Regions from separate parts of the Homo sapiens genome. Here region 1 is linked to region 2. Evidence: promoter capture Hi-C in 16 types of primary human blood cells and fetal thymus (Javierre and others, 2016). All regions are on one chromosome and are shown on one strand. The core of a region is centred on a gene start or on the middle of the fragment in contact, and the rest is flanking DNA. Distances in the headings are between cores, read along the strand shown.

The links. The method cuts DNA at HindIII sites, captures the fragments that hold promoters and counts their contacts. A CHiCAGO score of 5 or more calls a contact.
Region 1: a contact is called between a fragment that was not itself captured here and the fragment with the promoter of GDAP1 in region 2, in 1 of 17 cell types (fetal thymus). The highest score is 6.1, in fetal thymus.

Annotation. Positions count from the first base shown.
Region 1 is chr8:73,891,894-73,895,312 of GRCh38, forward strand. No RefSeq gene overlaps it. Among named protein-coding and RNA genes, the nearest start is that of LINC01617, 15 kb to the left of the region's middle. RefSeq lists an enhancer at 1,318-1,397. The HindIII fragment of the contact is 572 bases long and covers 1,315-1,886 here.
Region 2 is chr8:74,348,693-74,352,022 of GRCh38, forward strand. It overlaps GDAP1 (ganglioside induced differentiation associated protein 1), which reads left to right and starts at 1,711. Exons shown (of 6, transcript NM_018972.4): 1 at 1,711-1,886; 2 at 2,582-2,774. The coding sequence starts at 1,770. RefSeq lists an enhancer at 1,724-1,953. The HindIII fragment of the contact is 8,708 bases long and covers 1-2,541 here.

The DNA.
Region 1 (3,419 bases), core at 351-2,850, 460 kb before region 2:
AAGGGATGACAAACAGATTGGTATTGCCTAACAGAAATTGTAAAGACAGAGTGGAAGATGTGACCAAAGAGGCAAGTAAGACCAGGTCATGGAAGGTTTTATTTATTTAGCCTGTGACACAGCCTTGAGGTGATTCTCAGAACATGTGCCCTTCATGGAAGGTTCTGTTGGCTAATGAGGGGGCTGGACTTGATCTTAGAGATCATTTGGCACATTCGAGGTATTTCCAAATAGAAAGTGGTAAACCAGGCTGGGTGCAATGGCTCACGCCTGTAATCCCAGCACTTTGGGAGGCTGAGGAGTGTGGATCACCTGAGGTCAGGAGTTTGAGACCAGCCTGGCCAACATGGTGAAACCCCGTCTCTACTAAAACTACAAAAATTAGCCAGGCATAGTGGTGCGTGCCTGTAATCCCAGCTACTTGGGAGACTGAGGCAGGAGAATCGCTTGAACCCGGGAAGCGGAGGGTGCAGTGAGCCGAGATCATGCCACTGTATCCCAGCCTGGGCGACAGAGCGAGACTTCATCTCAAAAAACAAACAACAACAACAAAAACAAAAACAATAAACCAGACTTGTGTTTTAGAATGATTGTTCTAGTGGATGAACAGATTTGATCAGGTAAAGTCAGCAAAGAAAAATCAGGAAAGTAAGCTATTGCCAAGGAGTGAGAAAGTGAGGATGGACTAGGACATGTATGGAAAGGAAGGGAAGGGCTCTAGCGACAGGAGGGAGAGCAGACAGGACTGAGAGATCTGTTGTTTGTAGGGAAGGAGGAGGAGGAAAGAGTTGAGTGCTAGATTTCTGGTTTGAAAATAGAGGAGTTAGTAGAAATGGAGGCAATGAAAGTAGAAGAGGAAGAAAAAAGAATTCCCTTTTGGACATGTTTGAGATTTTCAAGTTTCCTATAGGTCATCTATTTCAGTCAGGTATTTTTCAAGTGTAAGTTGTAAAACCCATCTCAAATGAATTCAAATAGGGAGGGGAAAATAAATTCCTTAAGAAATTGTGGGAACAGAAGCTTAGCTGAAGTGGAGGGCCACTTTTTCTGTGTCTCTGTGTGAACAAAATAACCCCCAGTCTCCAGGCTCATATCCCTCCTACCAGCTCAGCAGCCCCAGGGATAGTTCTAGCTACAAAGATCTGATTGGCTTTAATCAGCTCCATCTCTCAACTAATCATCATAGTGATGAAGGAAGTGAGGTATTTACTCTGATTGGTTAGGTCTTGGCTGACTCTTACAGCATTGTGGCTGCAGTGTGGGGGTGGTCAGCCCCGCCCAGGTCACGTGTAACGAGACATCCCAGAAGGAAGAAGCTTCTTAAACTAAAATGGGAGGAGATAAGAGATGCCAGAGAAACATAAACTACAGATGTCCACTACTACAAGGAATATATTCAGTATATTCAGCAGACAATTCTACACCACAAGTTTCCGGCCCTTAAGCTGAGAGAAGGTGGGGAGAAACTCTCATTTAAGTAGAAGTTTTTGATTGTGATAACATTAGATGGCTTGAACATTTTAATGTCTGATAAGAGGCTGTTCTTGTGATAGAGGGACTAGAGCAGTTCTGGCAACTTTCTGAGATTTCATCCAGGGCAGAGAAAGCCCATCAAGCAGGTTTGAAAGGATAACAGGCAACAGCACCACATGGAGTCCAGCACATTCAGTAAAATGATTACATTTAAACCAGGAAAATAAAGAGATCACCCCAATACAGATTAGGAAAGAGAAGAACATGATGCTGAAGTCAGAAGCTAGGGGAACATGAGCATTTAGAAGCCAAAAAAAGGTCCTCAGGAATCAGTACTCAGTAGCGAGTACCATATTTTCTGTTGGAATGAGTTGTGGCGTGAACTGGTAACTGAAGAAATAGATACATCAAGAAGCTTAACTGAAGCCAGGTGCGGTGGCTCACACCTAAAATTCAACAGTTTAAGAAGCAGGGAGGGGGCAAGATGCAGTGGCTCACGTCTGTAATCCCAGCACTTTGGGAGGCCAAGGTGGACGGATCACTTGAGGTCAGGAGTTTGAGACCAGCCTGGCCAACATGGGGAAACCCCGTCTGTACTAAAACAGTACAAAAATTAGCTGGGCATGGTGGCGAGAGCCAGAAATCCCAGCTATGGGGGAGGCTAAGGCAGGAGAATCGCTTGAACCTGGGAGGCGGGGATTACAGTAGTGAGCGAGATCTTGCCACTGCACTCCAGCCTGGGCGACAGAGCAAGACTCTGTCTAAAAAAAGAGAAGAAGCAGCTGGGAGGGGAGGATTGGGATTGCTTGAGGCCAGGAGTTTGAGACCAGCCTAGGGAACACAGGGAGGGCCCCTCTCCCCATCTCTATCTACAACAAATAAAAAATTAGCTGGGCAAGGTGGTGCATACCTGTAGTCCTAGCTACTTTAAAGGCTAAGTTAGGAGGATCCCTTGAGCCTAGGCATTCAAGGCTGCAGTGAGCTAGGTTTGCACCAGGGCACCTCACTGCTCTCCAGCCCCGGCAACAGAGCAAGACTTTGTCTCAAAAAAAAAAAAAAAAAAGCTTAATCTGAGAAAAGAAAGTGGGAAATGAGATAAATGCAAAGTCAAGAGTAGGGAACAGTTTAGTTTTTTATTTGCTTATTTTAGAAAGAGATTTGAGCATTTTCATTGCCTAAAGAGAGTCTGAGAGGTCAAAGAATAAGGAGAGAGAGAAGTGTTTCAAAATGCTAGGAGTCTGAAGATGGAAGGCTGTGTGGGTGATGTACATTGGTTTTGAGGTGGAGGAAGACTCCTAATAGCTTTTTATGTTATAATACCATAGGACTGGGGGACATATTCTCCTATGATATGACATAGGAATTATAAAACCACAAGATAGACATGGTACGTCTCTGTAGAACAAGAATTTTACTGTTTGGTAAGTTATTTAAAACAGAGTGGGCCGGGCGCGGTGGCTCACTCCTGTAATCCCAGCACTTTGGGAGGCCGAGGCGGGCGGATCACAAGGTCAGGAGATCGAAACCATCCTGGCTAACACGGTGAAACCCCGTCTCTACTGAAAATACAAAAAAAAAAAAAAAAAAAAAAAAAAATTAGCCGGGCGCGGTAGCGGGTGCCTGTAGTCCCAGCTACTCGGGAGGCTGAGGCAGGAGAATGGCGCGAACCCGGGAGGCGGAGCTTGCTGCCGAGATCGCGCCACTGCACTCCAGCCTGGGGGACAGAGCGAGACTCCGTCTCAAACAAAAGAAAACAAAAAAACAGAGCGTTCTTCAGACTCTGGAATTCAAGTTCACACTCCAGTGGAAATTGAGAATCATTGAGGTAGATGTTAAACTTCATCATATTGCTTCCTTTTACTTAATTGGCTGTATCAAATGAAATGAAAAATAACAGTTTAAAAGGATTAGAGAAGCTGGCCTTGAAGAGGGATCTTACTGGCTGA
Region 2 (3,330 bases), core at 461-2,960:
AATGGGAGAGGAGGATTATATGGGTAGTTGTAAAAATTTTGAGACCTACAGAGAGAGGATGAAATGTAATATAATGCCCTCCTAATGTCAGTGAAGGGGCTTTTACACATATGTTTTTATCAATGGCTACATTCCAGGCAATACCCTAGGTGCTTTATATATATCCTTTCTTGAATTCCCACAGCCATCTGGGTAGGCATATAATTTTTATGTATCCATTTTTTACACACAATGAAGTCAAAGCTCAAGAAAGCTCAAGTTAGGGTAGAGCTAGAATTTAAACCCCACTCTGTCCGATTTCAAAGTTTTCCTCTTTCCGCTCTTACTCTTAAGTGTGAACTGATAAAAACAATTTTGGCAAGGAATTCACCTTTTCTATAGCACTTGAATTAACTGAAGGATATAAAAGACATTATGAAATCTTAAAAAATTATGAAAGAATTACAGAGAGTAACAAATGAAGTACTGTAAAGGCAAGGAAGAACCTCATGAGATTTTGTCTTTTCCAGGGGCCCTTCTCTGACCTGGGTTGGCTGCCTGCCCCTCCTTTCTCATAGTACTCTGTGTTCACCCTAAGACAGTTCTCATCTTTATTGTGATTGTCTATTTCCTTGGTCGTCTCTACTGCCAGATTATATCTTGAGTGTTAGATATTAGATTTCACACATCTTTATATTACCAGGAGCCAGCACAATGTCTGGAACAGTGTAGGTGCTCAATAAATATTTGCCAGATAAATTATACAGGCATTTATTCTATGGTCATATTTATACATATTACTGAAAGAGATTTTTAAAATCAACTTACTATATGATGCCAAATTTTTAAAGACATACAATAATAACTAGACTAATATAAAATTATGATTCTGACTATGGTTATAACAGAATGTTTATAAGACAACTGAACCTGTGACTAAGACTGAGTGCCTACAACGTGACAGGGTGTTCTGAGTGTTTAACATTTTATTATTAATTTTTCACAAAAATCTTATGAGGGAAACAATAAAATTATTATTCTTACTTAGAAAATGGAAAAACCAGGATATGAACTTAGGCAGTACTGTTGTAGAATTTTTGTGTTTAACAACTAGGCTATTTTATATCGCCATTGTTTATTAGCTGTTTATGACAAAAACAGTTTTTTTGCATGACTCCATAGTGGTATTTTTTTTTCTTTTACAAAGCACAGTTTAATTATCAAAATCAAGTACTTACTGTTTATACAAGACTATTCTCTAATCTACAGCAGTTAGTCAAATTTGTGGAATTAGTCCACTAATGTCATAGTAGCATCTTCTAATGAAAGCTCATAGATCCTTTTCCTGTTGCTTTGCTTGTCGACCGGAACTTCCTTTCCAACAAAGGAACAGGCTCCAAGAGCAACCCTCAGTATCTTGGGAAATTGCTGCTTTTATACCTGAGCAACCTCCAAACCGAAGAGTAATTTGCTATCATCATTCTTCCTTACTGCCCTTCATAACCAGGGTCTCATATTTTTTATTTTTTCTTCTAAAAAAAAAAACAAACCCAAAAAACAACCGTTCAATTGCACCTCCCAGGTGCACTCCCAGGCTTGCCAGGGGCTTTCCAGTCGCAGACCCCGCGTGTTCGCAGACTCTGCCGCCGGCGAAACTACATTTCCCAGCGGGCCGCGCGCCCTCCTTCCGGCAGGTACCCCTCAAAACCCGGAAACGCCTTGCGGGGCAGTGTGGGAGGGAGAAGTCCAGGGCGGACAGGCTGGGCGCACCCGTGCTCGCGCACCCCAAGATGGCTGAGAGGCAGGAAGAGCAGAGAGGGAGCCCGCCCTTGAGGGCGGAAGGCAAGGCCGACGCGGAGGTTAAGCTCATTCTGTACCATTGGACGCATTCCTTCAGCTCTCAAAAGGTACAACAGGCCTTGGCGGCGGAGGGTGGCGCGGATCGGGCTTCAGCACTGGGACAGCTCCTTCTGAGTCCCGCCCAGGGAAGCCGGTCCACCTAGAAATCCGCCTCCAGTGTCCTGACCCCGGGCAGGCGCTCCCTCCAGGCGGGGACGCGCCCGGGTGGGGAGCGGGGAGAATCGATCGGAGATGATCCTATGTGGCTATGGCCCAGGCTCCGCCTCTCGCGAAATGCGACAAAAAAGCATCATTTTCAGTATTTGGTCTGGAGGCCTTGCCTGCTGGTCTTCGGAGAGAGGCAGAGGGAGGTGCCTTTGTGGACCCTCATAATCTGCGATCTCTTCTTTTGCTCTCTCGCATTCACTGTCTTCAGCAAGAGCTGATGTACCTACATGTCAGGTTCTTGTCTGGGGAGGACCCATAATCAGGTTTAGGACACCGAGAAAGTGGTAGTGATGAGGAGGGTGACTGTTTAATGAATACAGTCAGAATCATTTCATTACTTATTTTGTGTTCTTCTCTTAATTTGTTGAGTATTGTTCTTTCCTTACTTGTTAATTCCAGGAATAGGAATTGTTAAAACGACTGTTGAAAATGTCGGTAACACAGGGAAGCCCAGAAAGGCTGCTTAGCGGTGTCCAGGGAAGTCATTTAATTGAAAGCTTACATGTGTTGTAGTAACCAGTGTGAACTCTTCCAGGTGCGCTTGGTAATTGCTGAAAAGGCATTGAAGTGCGAGGAACATGATGTAAGTCTGCCCTTGAGTGAGCACAATGAGCCTTGGTTTATGCGTTTGAACTCAACTGGAGAAGTGCCTGTCCTTATCCACGGGGAAAACATAATTTGTGAGGCCACTCAGATCATTGATTATCTTGAACAGACTTTCCTGGATGGTAATGTTAAGGCTACTTGCGATTTCTTGGATTTACTTTCAACACAACTATGTGTTCCCTTTCTCTTTTTCTCTCTCTCCTCTCTCTCTTTCTCTTGTGTCATGATGGTGGTTTGGGATTAAAAACCTTTTCCATTTCCATAAGCACACAAATATCAAATAGGTCAATAACAAATTTTGTATAGGCTAGTGTAATGCTATTTAAAATAATTTAATGCAAAATACAAATGTTAATGTTGAAACTTAAAAAAATTCACTTGCAAAAAACTGCAAATGTGTGGTTTGTGTTGGTGATTTCTTAGTCTTAAATTCATAATATTCTAAATGTGCACTGTGACGATTTCATCTAATATACCAAATGGTTTCACCTTAAAAACAAGAGGGAAAAAAGAGCAATAAATCTTAAAGGAGAATAGAATGTTAGTATACCTGAGTTCTTTGCCCCAGTCACTTCTGAATTGTTTGAATTTTATATCTTTACTAAGGAATTATAGGGCTTAAATTTGTATAGTGCATTTAGGTAAATCATTTATTAACAGCTTGTTATGTGTCAGACA